Regions from separate parts of the Homo sapiens genome. Here regions 2 and 3 are each linked to region 1. The links are contacts of gene promoters, found by promoter capture Hi-C in human tissues and cell types (Jung and others, 2019). All regions are on one chromosome and are shown on one strand. The core of a region is centred on a gene start or on the middle of the fragment in contact, and the rest is flanking DNA. Distances in the headings are between cores, read along the strand shown. Region 1 holds the start of ZNF84 (zinc finger protein 84). Region 2 overlaps ZNF891 (zinc finger protein 891). Region 3 overlaps ZNF605 (zinc finger protein 605).

What was found. The method cuts DNA at HindIII sites, captures the fragments that hold promoters and counts their contacts. A contact is called where the count stands out against the background at its distance.
Region 2: a contact is called between a fragment that was not itself captured here and the fragment with the promoter of ZNF84 in region 1, in 6 of the 25 tissues and cell types used here (IMR-90 fibroblasts, dorsolateral prefrontal cortex, hippocampus and 3 more).
Region 3: a fragment that was not itself captured here is called in contact with the fragment with the promoter of ZNF84 in region 1 in 10 of the 25 tissues and cell types used here (H1 embryonic stem cells, IMR-90 fibroblasts, adrenal gland and 7 more).

The regions. Positions count from the first base shown.
Region 1 is chr12:133,036,015-133,040,309 of GRCh38, reverse strand. ZNF84 (zinc finger protein 84) reads right to left here and starts at 2,801. Exons shown (of 5, transcript NM_001289971.2): 1 at 2,765-2,801. It overlaps ZNF84-DT (ZNF84 divergent transcript), which reads left to right and starts at 3,088. Exons shown (of 3, transcript NR_110091.1): 1 at 3,088-3,541. RefSeq lists a silencer at 2,695-2,874 and an enhancer at 3,095-3,184. The HindIII fragment of the contact is 8,441 bases long and covers 1-4,295 here.
Region 2 is chr12:133,113,229-133,117,913 of GRCh38, reverse strand. ZNF891 (zinc finger protein 891) reads left to right here. Exons shown (of 2, transcript NM_001277291.2): 2 at 1-4,685. Among named protein-coding and RNA genes, the nearest start is that of ZNF891, 15 kb to the left of the region's middle. The HindIII fragment of the contact is 6,343 bases long and covers 1-4,685 here.
Region 3 is chr12:132,919,855-132,924,014 of GRCh38, reverse strand. It overlaps ZNF605 (zinc finger protein 605), which reads left to right. Exons shown (of 5, transcript NM_183238.4): 5 at 1-4,160. Among named protein-coding and RNA genes, the nearest start is that of CHFR-DT, 34 kb to the right of the region's middle. The HindIII fragment of the contact is 5,257 bases long and covers 1-4,092 here.

The DNA.
Region 1 (4,295 bases), core at 1,552-4,051:
GATTATAGGCATACAACACCACACCTGGCTTCAGCATTCTTTTGGTATTTACGTGGTATGTTATCATCTGGTCAACTACACTAAAAATCTTAGCATCATTATCTTTGTCCCTTATAAGCAGCTCAGAGCTCAAATTTATTGGTGTTTAAAAAAAAAAAAATCCAAATTGGCCAGGAGCGATGGCTTACGCCTGTAATTCCAGCACTTTGGGAGGCCAAGGCAGATGGATCACCTGAGGTCAGGAGTTCAACCAGCCTGACCAACATGATGAAACCCCATCTCTACTAAAAATACAAAAATAAACCAGGCGTGGTGGCATGCACCTGTAAGCTCAGCTACTTGGGAGGCTGAGGCAGAAGAGTTGCTTGAACCTGGGAGGTGGATGTTGCAGCCCGTGCCATTGTACTCCAGCCTGGTGCAACAAAAGGGAAACTCCATCTCAAAAAAAAAAAAAAAATCCAAACCAACAGTGTGTCTTTTAACTGACAAATTGAATACATTTAATGTTTATTGTGGTTACTGTTTTTCCCCCCTCCTTTCTTGCCTTCAAAGCCTCAATTTCTGTACTTGCTAAAATGGTGAAGATAAAGTGGACCTCACAATGGGAGTCTAAGAAACAAATGAGGTGTTAAAAGGAAAGCGACTGGGGCCTTGTAATAACAGTTACAGCTAACATTCCAGTGCTTTCTGTATGTGAGACAATATACTAAGCATTTTAAATTTAACTCATGCACAACCCTATAAGGCGTTTAACATAATCTCCATTTTACAGAGAGAAAACTGGGACAATGAGTGATTGTAAAATGTGCCTGTGATTGCACATTTAGTAAGTAGCAAAATTCAAATGTTAATTCTCTATCCTGCTATGTTCAAAGCATGAATACTAAAGTCATATTGTCATTTGTGCATATCTACATGCACAAACACACACAACATAAATCCTGGAGTCAGCTCCTATTCCCATGCACACATTCAGTCACTAATTCCCACAAAAATATAAATGAAGGACGCCCTGCCTCAACTGTATCACACTAACAAGCAGCACTTTCTTTTTCATGCCTTTTTGTGGTTCAAACTTCAGTGCCAACTCAGAAACACACAGCAGTTTCTCCCAGTTATACAAGAAATGACTCCTTTATACCTTAAATTGTGATAATACATAAATCTTAGAACAAAAGCTGGCACACAGTCATACGAAACATATACTAGCTATAATTATTATTATAAAAGTAATATATGATGGCAAAATATAAAAAACATACACAAGCTAAATAAGAACTATTATCTATGATCTCACCACAGGTAACCATTCTTAGGATGATGGAAACTATTGTGATATTTTTCATACAATGGAAGCATATGGTCATATTTAAAAGCTGTTTTTGTTTTTTTCCCATTATGTGAAGAACATCTTTCCAGGTCAATAACCTTATTTCTGTAAGATATAAACAACTCACATAAAATAACAAAAAAATAAAATCCGACTCATAATTGACAAAATACATAAAATATGTAGGAATATCAAGACCCATATGAAGCATACTAAAAACACCAATGAGAACTATAAAAATAGAATTAAAGAAATTTATAATTCGATTTTATTCTGGGATAGGAAGACTTCAGATTGTGAAGATAATTTGACCTCAAATGATTTATATAACTCATCGACTCCAATCAGAATCTCAAAATTCTAAAGTTTATGTGTAAGAAAAAAGGTTCAAGAACAATTCGGACACTTTTTTTTTTTTTTTGACAGGGTCTTACTGTGTTGTCCAGGCTGAAGTGCAATGGCATAACCATAGCTCACTGCAGCCCTGAACTCCTGGGCTCAAGTGATCCTCCTACCTCAACCTACAGAGTAGCTGGGGCTACAGGCATGCCCTACCACACCGGGCCTGGATGCTTTTGGAAATACAAAATAATGAGTGTGAACAGGCCCACTGTAATACATACAAATTATAATCATTATAACATTTGACACTGGCTCCAGAGAAGTTATACAGATGAAAAAAAGCAAACTGTCTAAATATGCAAGAGTCAGCATGCAATAAATGTAGCATTTCAAAGCCATCAGTAAAATTAAATTATTTAATGAATACAAGAATATTTGAAAGAAAATAAACGTAGCTATTTCATACAACTACTTTCAGTGGGTTAAATTTTAAAATAATGGAAACCCTAAGAATGTCTACAAAAAAAAACCACAGGTGAATGAATATATGTATAATTTGAGGGGAGATTTCGCTACACCATACCAAAAGCAAAAGTCACTTAAAAAATTTAAAACAGTCAATAAATATAACCATTAAAAAATACACGGCCAGGAATGGTGGCTCACACCTGTAACCCCAGCGCTTTAAAAGCCTCCTTCGATAGCGGCAGAGCCAGGCTGCTGGTGGATGCGGTCCAGCAGGGCAGCCGCTCCTTAGGGCCACGGCGCGGCAAGCGGGCTGGCCCGAGGTCGAGGCTAAACGCGCCCGAGGCTAAACGCGCCCGAGGCTGGCGCCTCCACGCCCGCCTGAAAGGACGCCCAGGAGCGGCGCCTCCGGAAAGGCCGTGCCCGCCCCACAGCCCAGAATCCGCGCAGCTCCGCGGCCCACGGCATCTTCACGACCCGGCCCAGCCCCAACCCGCCCCAGACCCGCATCCGCGCGCGGACGCCCAGGGCCTTGAAGCCGAAGCTCCCCGCGGCCACTCCCGCGCGCCTCCCCCGCCATTCCCGGAGCCCCCAGCGCCGGGCCCGCAATAAACTCACTGAACTCACAAAAGACGCCGCCGCCGAGTCGCGCCCGCGCGCCCGCGGCCTCGCGATCACGTGACACCGCCCGTCCCCCGTGTCCCGCGCACGCGCCCAAACCGTCGGCCTTTGTGCGCTCCCGGGCGGCTCCGAACGGGCCGGGACGAGTCGGGGACTGCACACGCGCACACTCGCACGCGCGCACACGCGTACACTCCCCTCTCACGTGGCAGCGAAGGACAAAGAGGAAGAACGGGCCACCTGCAAGCATTACCAAGAGTGCATGTGCGCATGCGCGAAGGAAGGAGCCCCGCGAACTCAACTTCCCACAGTGCCCCGCGTCCGGAAGTGCCTGTCGCTTGGAGACGGAGTGACTCCAAACGGGCTCACACGGTTTTCTGAGAAACATAAAGGGAAACCGAATCCACCAATATATATATATATTTTCTTGAGACGGCGTCTCGCTCTGTCACCCAGGCTGGAGTGCAGTGGCGTGATCTCGGCTCACTGCAAACTCCGCCTCCCGGGTTGACGCCATTCTTCTGCCTCAGCCTCCCGAGTAGCTGGGACTACAGGCGCCCGCCGCCACGCCCGGCTAATTTTTTTGTATTTTAGTAGAGACGGGGAGTCACCGTGTTGCCCAGGCTGGTCGCGAACTCCTGAGCTCAGGCAATCCGCCCGCCTTGGCCTCCCAAAGTGCTAGGATTACAGGCGTGAGCCACCGCGCCCGGCCCACCAATACTCAATTGGTTTGACTTCAGTTGAGGAAACCAGAAAAAATTTAAATATATTTATGGAAAGAAGGTAAGAATTAACAGAAAAAAGTAAAGTTGATCCATAACTGGAGTCGTAGGGAGAATTATAGGTAAGTCACGATGCTTATGACAGCAAGATGGGGCCGGGGAGATGGAGGAGAGAGATGAAAAAAGAGAAATAACCATAGACACATAGGAAATTGAATGAAAATCCGCTCTATACTAATAAATTTGATAATTTGTGACACAAATGATTCTCCAGGACAACATGGGCCAAATTTGACCCAATTTTATCCACAATTTGAAGACAAATTCAGAGATCCTTTGCCAGAAAGCATCATAATGAGTTGCTTAGTGAATTGCTTCAAACATCCAGTGATTAGAGAATTCTTATATTTATTCCCAGAGGTAGAACTCACCAGTGAAGTACTAGCATAAAAACAGACGCATGGACCAATGTGGAACAGCGTAGAAAAACCAGAAATAACCCCATGCATATACAGTCAACTAATCTTAGGCAAGTCAACTAATCTTGTGTCAAGAATACACGATGGGGAAAGGACAGTCGCTTCAATAAATAGCGTGAGGAAACCGGATATCCAAATACTGCTACGCAAAAGACCTCATTGCCCGATGTGCACAGAAGCCAATACTATGGCACCAGGCGTTTGAGAAAAGAAAAGCTTAATTGCGAGTTGACCAACAAAGTGACAGGAGTTTAGTTCAAATCTATCTCTCTGTGCTGCCCTTAAGGCAGCACTATTGTGAAAAAAGGTTTAGAGGGTGGATTCTGGGATTCACAG
Region 2 (4,685 bases), core at 657-3,156, 78 kb before region 1:
AGGGATCCAATTAGATGAAGTCTAAAAAGGTAAACATATACAGCCAAGTGAAGATCATTTGTGATTGTAGTTGGAAATAACATAGTGGTACATAATGAAGATGGTTGCTAGATTGGGCTGACTTTAGGAATCAATAAAGGGCAAAGAAGTAAAGACTGGATGTAGACAAGTTTGAATAATAGGAGAAAGGGTAGTAGCTGGAGAGATTTGGAGTAAAGAGATAATATGTTTAAAATATGAAAAACTAGAACATGTTTGAATTCTAATGTGATGAATGTAGTATGGTGAGGTTTAATATGCAGCATAATAAAGTTTAATATAAGCTTCTGAGAATGGGGTGTAGATGTTTAGAGCACAAACAAAAGTATTGGTGTTTGCCATGAGGCGGAGGGATACTCCCACCATTCTTTCAGGAGTAGAAAAATGGGTGGGTTGGTTTAAATTACTTGTTTATTTATTTACACCTAACTGTACTAAGCAGTGATCAGAATATGTGAACTATATAATGTTTTGTGTTTCCTAAGAACTGTGTGGCAGCCACTGCTAATTACTAACCAAATATATATATTTTTTATTCTTTATGAATAGATCTTCAGTTTTGCTAACAGTAGTATTGTATTTAGCTACAAAACTACTTATCCCAACCTCTTTGTAGCCTTGATGCCATTTCTACTGTTCCTGGCCAGTAAAATATAGATATATGATTATAGGTTTCATGGTAAGATTATCTGCTAAGAGGAAGGTGGATGAAATTCTGCAAGGAGGTTTTAGTGAAGAAGATCTCTATGTATTTGAAAGTCCTTCCAAGTTATCAATAGAGCCATCAGTGGAGAAGACAGCAAAGCAAGTAGCAAAGTCTATGTGATTGAGGAGAGGTCATTTAAATAAAAGATAGCAAGGAAGAGAGGGAGAAAGTGGTATAACTAGATGGTATGAACTTCAAAGGAAGGAGTGGTTTTCTCCAGGCTGCAATGGTTAGAAGCAGTGTTAGGGAGTAAGGAAGATACTGATCCCACTTCCAACCTGTGGATATGTGGAATACATGAGAATAAGCCCCCTTGTGATGTGATTGTTGTCAGGTAGGTGTTTTTTCCTTCCCAGGGAACAGCCAAGTTTAAATTAATGAAAGGAAATGTTCAGGGAAATAGTTGAGGATATTAAGGGAGTTTATTAAGGGAATCTCAGAGGGCACCATGAAAGAGTCTCCAGAAGGGCAGGGGTTTAGGGTTTCTGGCTTTGGCCTGAGGAATACAGAAGATTGTAATGACATTATTGATAGAGGAAAAAAGACCAGATCAGGGGCTATGACCAGTGAAAACAAAATTTAGAGGGAGTATAGGTTAAATCCCAGCAGTCTGTAAGAAGATGATGGGTATTTAGGTCTACTGGGATTCATTTGTAGCTTGGAAAGGAGAGCCTGCAGTCATGCTGTGAAACCAAGTGGTTTCAGGTGTTAGCAGCCCTGGTGGGTATAGCACTAGCCATCAGTAGTTAGAAAATGGTCCCAACTGGCCGGGTGCAGTGGCTCACGCTTCTAATCCCAGCACTTTGGGAGGCCGAGGCAGGCGGATCACGAGGTCAGGAGATTGAGACCATCCTGGCTAACATGATGAAACCTCGTCTCTACTAAAAATACAAAAAATTAGCCAAGTGTGGTGGTGGGCGCCTGTAGTACCAGCTACTCGGGAGGCTGAGGCAGGAGAATGCTGTGAACCCGGGAGGCAGAGGTTGTGGTAAGCCGAGATCGCACCACTGCATTCCGGCCTAGGTGACAGAGCAAGACTCCGTCTCAAGAAAATCGTCCCAACTGCATGTGGTCCTTGGGTGAGATCATCTTAAGGAGTACTCAGCAAGGGATTGTACTTTGCTTGGTTAGGACTGGAATTTACACTCTAATTTTGGCCCAGTGATCTTGGAACAGATTGAGCATCTCAAATCTGAAAATCTGAAATTCAGAATGCTCCAAAACCTGAAACCTTGTGCGCCGATGTGACTTTCAAAAGAAATGCTCATTGGAGCATTTAAAATTTTGGATTTTCAGATTTGTGATGCTCAACTAGTAGGTATAATGCAAATATTCCAAAATCCAAAACAGTTCTGGTCCCAAGTGTTTTGAATAAGGAATACTCATCCTGTACACCAGGAGGTAGACTCAGGCACAGTCTCGCCCAGCATCTCACCTGGATTTTATTGCAATAGCCTCCTAACTGGTTTCTCTGACTTGAATCATACTTTCCTTTAGTATGTTTTCTATGCAGCTGCCATGGTATCCTATTAAAAAACAAAACAAAACAAAACAAAAACTTTGTGGTTTTTAATAATAAAACTAATACATGCATAGGAGAAAACAATGTAAATAACTTCTGCCCTACACAGAAGGAAACCCTGGATTCTACTGCCTTAAAAAATTAATATCGTAGGTGAATGTGCATTCTGTCAGACTTTATGTACATACAAACATTTTATAAAAATTGAGTTATACCTTTTATCCCACATCTTTTTTTTTTTTTTTTTTTTTTTTTTGAGAAGGAGTTTTGCTTTTTCCCAGGCTGGAGTGCAGTGGCACGTTCTCGGCTCACAGCAACCTCTGCCTCCTGGGTTCAAGCAATTCTCCTGCCTCAGCCTCCCAAGTAGCTGGGATTACAGGCATGTGCCACCACTCCTGGCTAATTTTGTATTTTTAGTAGAGACAGGGTTTCTCCATGTTGGTCAGGCTGGTCTCAAACTCCTAACCTCAGGTGATCCGCCTGCCTCAGCCTCCCAAATTGTTGGGATTGTGAGGCCATCGCCCCCAGCCTATCCAACATCTTTTTAAACATCTTTCCATGTCAGTGCATGTAGTTCTATTTCATTTGTAATAGCTGCTTAGTATTTGATTATATGCTTGTACCATAATGTATTTGATCCATTTGCCTCCAGAGTTTTTATAACAATACTGCAATCAATAATATTGTTTATATATTGTGCTTTCCTATCAACTGTTCTCTACACTTCCCAGGGTGATCCATCTAAAGTACTAACCTGATCACATAACATTTCACGTTTAATCTTCTTCTGGCCTTTTTCTCCAGTTAAGATAAAATCTTTTTACAAGACCTTGCTCAAACTCTTGCCTTTTCAGGCCTTATCTCTGGTTATTCCCTTTATCTTCACTGTCTCCCTAATTTAACCTGTCCTATTTATCCTTTAGGTATTGTGTCCTTCATCTGCTTTAACAATACTTGTCACACTTTCACACTGTATTGCCTGTTTGTGTATTGTGCCCTCTACACTGTAAGTTTTGGTAAGGTGGGAACTTTGTCTAAATTTTTCATTGTTTTATTACTTGGCCCAGTGTAGGTGTTCAGTTAAATATTTACGGTTCTTCAGCAAATTTTGTGCCTTTTCTTTTACTTACCATTCTAGTGGAAGTTTAACTTAAAAGCTATTTAAGTGATTGTAAGGTAAAAGTTGCAAGGAGGTGGGTGCAATGGCCTGTGCCTGTAGTCCTATCTGCTCTGGAGGCTGACGTGGGAGGATTGCTTGAGCCCAGGAGTTTGAGACCAGCCTGAGTAACATGAGACTCCATTATAGTAAAAATGCATGGAATTAATTTTTCTTCTAGGTATAGGAAAATGTTGCACCATAACAGGTGTGCAGAAACTAAGACTGTTAGGACAACAGCAGTTTAATGTTATTTATATTATGTCCCTCTCCTAGTCCTTCTCCTCTCTTCCCTCATCCCACTCACCACCACCCCATTCACTACACAGACTTATTTTTTGTAGAGCAAGTGTTCATATTCTGTTCCATTATGTATTATAATATGAAAAGGGATGAGTTGACCAAGTATTGGTGGGTGTGTCGTATACTTGCTTTAGACTACCAATGGAAGCGTAAATTAGTACAAACTTACTGGGTGGGTGTGGTGGCTCACATCTGTAATCCCAGCACTTTGAGAGGCTGAGGTGAGTAGATTGCTTGAGCCCAGGAGTTTGAAACCAGCCTAGGCAACATGGCAAAACCCCATCTCTACCAAAAAAAAAAAATTACCCATGGTGTCATGAATCTGTGGTCCCAGCCACTAGGGATGCTGGGGTAGGAGGATCACTTGAGCTGCAGTGGGGTTGAGTCTGCAGTGAGCTGTGTGCACCACTGCACTCCAGCCTGGGTGACAGAGTAAGACCCTGTCTAAAAACAAAAACAAACCAAAAAAAACTTGGGACAGTAAAGCAATAAATGTCCAAAGCTGGAATATTTATAACCTTTAAATATTTAAAACCCAGCAATTTTAAACTGAGATTTTATAAAAGGATTTTTCATGTATAAGTAACAATATTCACCTGTTTCATGCCCTAGTGAAAAACTGGAAAATTCCTAAATTCCCAGTAACAGTCAATAAAATGGAATATAATGCAGTCATTAAAATGTATTTGTGTGGATTGACATGTGGAGATATATTTGATACATTATGAATTTTAAACAGTCACAAAATATGGTATGACTTTTTAATGCATGTTATAAATATGTGTGTGTGCATTGAAAATATGGAAAGACATAACACCAAAGTTTTATCAATGGTTATGTCATAATTTTTTTCTTTTGTCTTTTTTTAAGATGTCTAGTTTAGTGAACAGAGCTGTGGTCTATTTCTTAAAAATAATTCTATCATTAACTTTTTAATAAATACTTTTTAAAGCATGATT
Region 3 (4,160 bases), core at 215-2,714, 110 kb after region 1:
GGAACTTCTAGGGATGAAATCAACTTCTGATTTTGTTAAAATCCCGAGTGGAGAGATTAGATACAGAAAAAGAAGAAAAAATCAATGAACTTGAAGAGTAAGAATAAAAACTACCAAAGTGATATACAGAGAGAAAAAAAGACTTAGAGAAGAGGAAGAGAATAGGAAAACCATTACAGTAGTGTAATATATGTTTAACTGGAGTCCCAGAAGGAGAGGAGAAAATGAAGAGGCATGAAGAAGTATTTGAATAAATAATGGCTAAAGATTTTCCAAATCTGGTGAAAACAATACCCCCACATATTCAAGAAGCTCAAATGACCTGAAGTAGAATAAACATAATTTACATCACAGCAGTGCACCTCAGAGTCACATTCATGAAAAGCACTGATAAACAGAATACTTTTAAAACACCTTGAGAAAAAAAGATAATACATACACATGAACAAAGAATGGCAGCATATTTCTGGTGAGAACTATGCAAGCTATAAGACAATGGAGTATTATCTCTAAATTCCTTAATGAAATAAACAACAAACCCTGCAACCTAGAATTCTGTTACTGTCAAAAACGTTTTCAAAAATGAAGGCAAAATAAAGACTGTTTCTGAGAAACTAAATCAAAGGTAATTTTATTACCTGTAGACCTGTCTTTGGGAAACATTAAAGGATGTTTGAGGGCAGCAGGAAAATAATACAAAACTTAAGTTTGGGTCTGTACAAAGGAATGAAGTTCTGAAAATGGTGAATATGTGGGTAAATATAAAAGATATTTCTCTCTTTTTAAAATCTTTTTAAAAGGGAATTGGCTGCTTAAAGCCAAAGTAATGATAACGTATTTGGAGTTTATTTAGAAGTAAAGTGTGATGACGATAACACTTAAGTGTGAATTTTTAAATATAGTTGAGTAGACTGCATCATCTGAGTTAGAAGCCTATTCCTTCAGGGCTCGGGGTAGCTTGAATTTGTAGCAGGCACATGACAGAAATTGTATGTATTGTGGATCTGCATGTGTGCTGAGTATTCCCTATTTCTTTGATCCCTTTTCCCCCATTTTCTGCTCTGCTCCCCCCTGAGGCTGTCTTCTAGAGACTGGGGTTTCTTCATAGGTTTGAACAGTGGGAGATACCAGAGGTGGGAGGAGAAAAAGTTATTTATTACCGTTCCCTTCCTCCTGCCTGGACCATGGTAGCTTCTGTGTTCCCGTAAGGATACAGCTTCCTTTGGGAAGCCCCATCTATGGCTGTAGATCTCTCGGTTTCAGTTGACACCATTCCCTCTCCATGATCTTCAGACTTAACTACTACTGGGTGCTTCCCCAACCCACTGGTTGGGTGTCTTTAATTGTGAACACATATTTGTAAATAGTGCCTTTATTAATTGTTCTTGAGTTAATATTCTGAGTGTGCCATTTATTTTCTGTGCCATCTGTTAAATGATGAGCATTTAATAAAATTGTGATAATCAGTTATCAGTACAAGTGCCGCATAGTGCATAGGCTGAAATGTCTCAAGATTCCCCACACTACATATCAGTATTTTCTATCTGTATCTGGACAATGCAGTAGAAATTATAACAAATACAAAGTTCTTTGTGCTTTTCTGCTGCATATGTCAGTGGCTCTGGAGATTGTTACCATCTGCTACATATATAAATAGACTTGCAGTTATTACTAAGCTCCTCTTCAGTAATAGAAAGACTTATGAAGTCTTTTACTACCTCTGGGTTAGCCAAACAACCTTCAAAAAGCATTGTTATTTAGGTTAAATATCTGTGGACAAGAAACAAGATAATCAGTTACTGAGTGAAGAAAGACGGGAATGATGTCCCATACTTCCCAGCTCTCTAAAGTGTTATGCTGTACAATTAAAATACCCCTGACCCATCATCTGCTACCATTCGTTGTGGATAATTCATGTAATCTCTAACCTGTGGGCAAGTCTTTACCCTTCAGTAGTCAAGATTACGTTAGAGACTTCGTCCACGAATCCACACCACCTTTCCCATCAGTTCTCACCGGAAATATGCTGCCAAAAAGAAAATCAGCTTTTCTAAGATCAAGCCAGAGTTGCTTCTCTTACAACCTTACGGCGCTAATGCATTAAGTTGAAGTCGACTGCCAAAGAGGCCCAGCAGAGGGCAGCACCCCCATCATTTTTTTGAATTTCTCCCTTAGGAATTTTGCCTTCCTTTGTCTTCTGTCCACCAGGCCTTCTCTCCAGCTGGACACAAACCTCCTTTGAAGGGAAATAATTGCCGTTAGGCTTCACAGTAGTGCTTTTTCCTTTCACTTGGATTTGCATTTTAACCTGCATTTCGAAGATTTTTATACATGTTTTCTATTTCCGACAATGCCAGGAGGCTTCATTGACGTTGTAGTCTGTGTTAATAAACTTGTGTATCACTCTGCTCTGATCTTTTAGGAATTAACTTGCAAATGAAATGAATATGTTGGGACTTTGGCATAATTTGAATATAGCATTGTGTGAGTTGTGATTGTCTCTTCCTAATTGTGCTGTAATAACCTGTGTATGAGAATAAAATGATTTCCACCATCAGGATTCTCCCATGCCCCCCTTTATTTTGCCATAGACTAAAGGGGAAAGGCCATTCTCACTCTCCTTACCTTAGAAAATTTTATTTGCCTCATGATGACTGTCTGCCGCTTAGAAGTAGACAATATAAAATCTCATCACTATTTCACAAGAATAAAATTCAAATCAGTTATATCCAAAGTAACTTTTCAACTGGGGGTGGTGTCTCACACCTGTAATCCCAGTGCTTGGGGAGGCCAAATTGGGAGGACCGCTTGAGCCCAGGCGTTTGAGACCAGCTGGACAACATAGCAAGACTCATCTCTACAAAAAAAAAATTTAATTAGCCATGAGAGGCTGGGTGCAGTGACGCAAGCCTGTAATCCCAGCACTTTGGGAGGCCGAGGTGGGTGGATCACCTGAGTTCAGGAGTTCGCGACCAGCCTGAATAACATGGTGAAACCCCGTCTCTACTAAATACAAAAAAATTAGCCGGGCATGGTGGCACATGCCTGTAATCCGAGCTACTTGGGAGGCTGAGACAAGAGAATCACTTGTACCTGGGAGGAGGAGGTTGCAGTGAGCCGAGATCACGGCATTGCACTCCAGTCTGGGCAACAAGAACAAAACTCCATCTCAAAAAAAAAGTTAGCCATGATGGTGCATGTCTGTAATCCCAGCTACTTGGGAAGCTGAGGCAGAAGGGTCACTTGAGCCCAGGAGTTCAAGGCTGCAGTGAGCCATGATGGGGCCACTGCATTCCAGCCTGAGTGACAGAGTGAAACCTTGCCTCTTAAATGAATAAAAATAAAGTAAGCTTTCTTCAACAAGTTTTCTTCCAACGCCACACACTCCATCACCATATTAATTTAAATTATTTAGTATGTAGCAGATTTACTTTGAGACCAAATCTGTGAAGTTGGTGATGATATTTAATAATTCTTTATTTCCCTTATGGGATCTTTGCAACTTAGAACACAATTATTACTCATTGTATCCGGGTCATTTAACATCTTGTCAGAATGCTAACATTAAATAAACCAGGCCAGGCGCGGTGGCTCACGCCTGTAATCCCAGCACTTTGGGAGGCCAAGGCGGGTGGATCACGAGGTCAGGAGATCGAGACCATCCTGGCTAACACGGTGAAACCCCGTCTCTACTAAAAATACAAAAAATTAGCCAGGTGAGGTGGCCAGCGCCTGTAGTCCCAGCTACTCAGGAGGCTGAGGCAGGAGAATGGCGTGAACCTGGGAGGTGGAGCTTGCAGTGAGCCAAGATCACACCACTGCACTCCAGCCTGGGTGATAGAGCGAGGCTCTGTCTCAAAAAAATAAATAAATCAGGCGCTGGGCGCGGTGGCTCACACCTGTAATCATAACACTTTGGGAGGCTAAGGCAGGCAGATCACAAGGTCAGGAGTTCGAGACCAGCCTGGCCAATATGGTGAAACCCCATCTCTACTAAAAATGCAAAAATTAGCCGGGCTTGGTGGCACGTGTGTAGTCCCAGCTACTCCGGAGGCTGAGGCAGGAGAATCGCTTGAACCCAGGAAGCCGATGTTGCAGTGAGCTGAGATCACACCACTGCACTCCAGCCTGGGTGACAGAGCAAGACTCCATCACACACA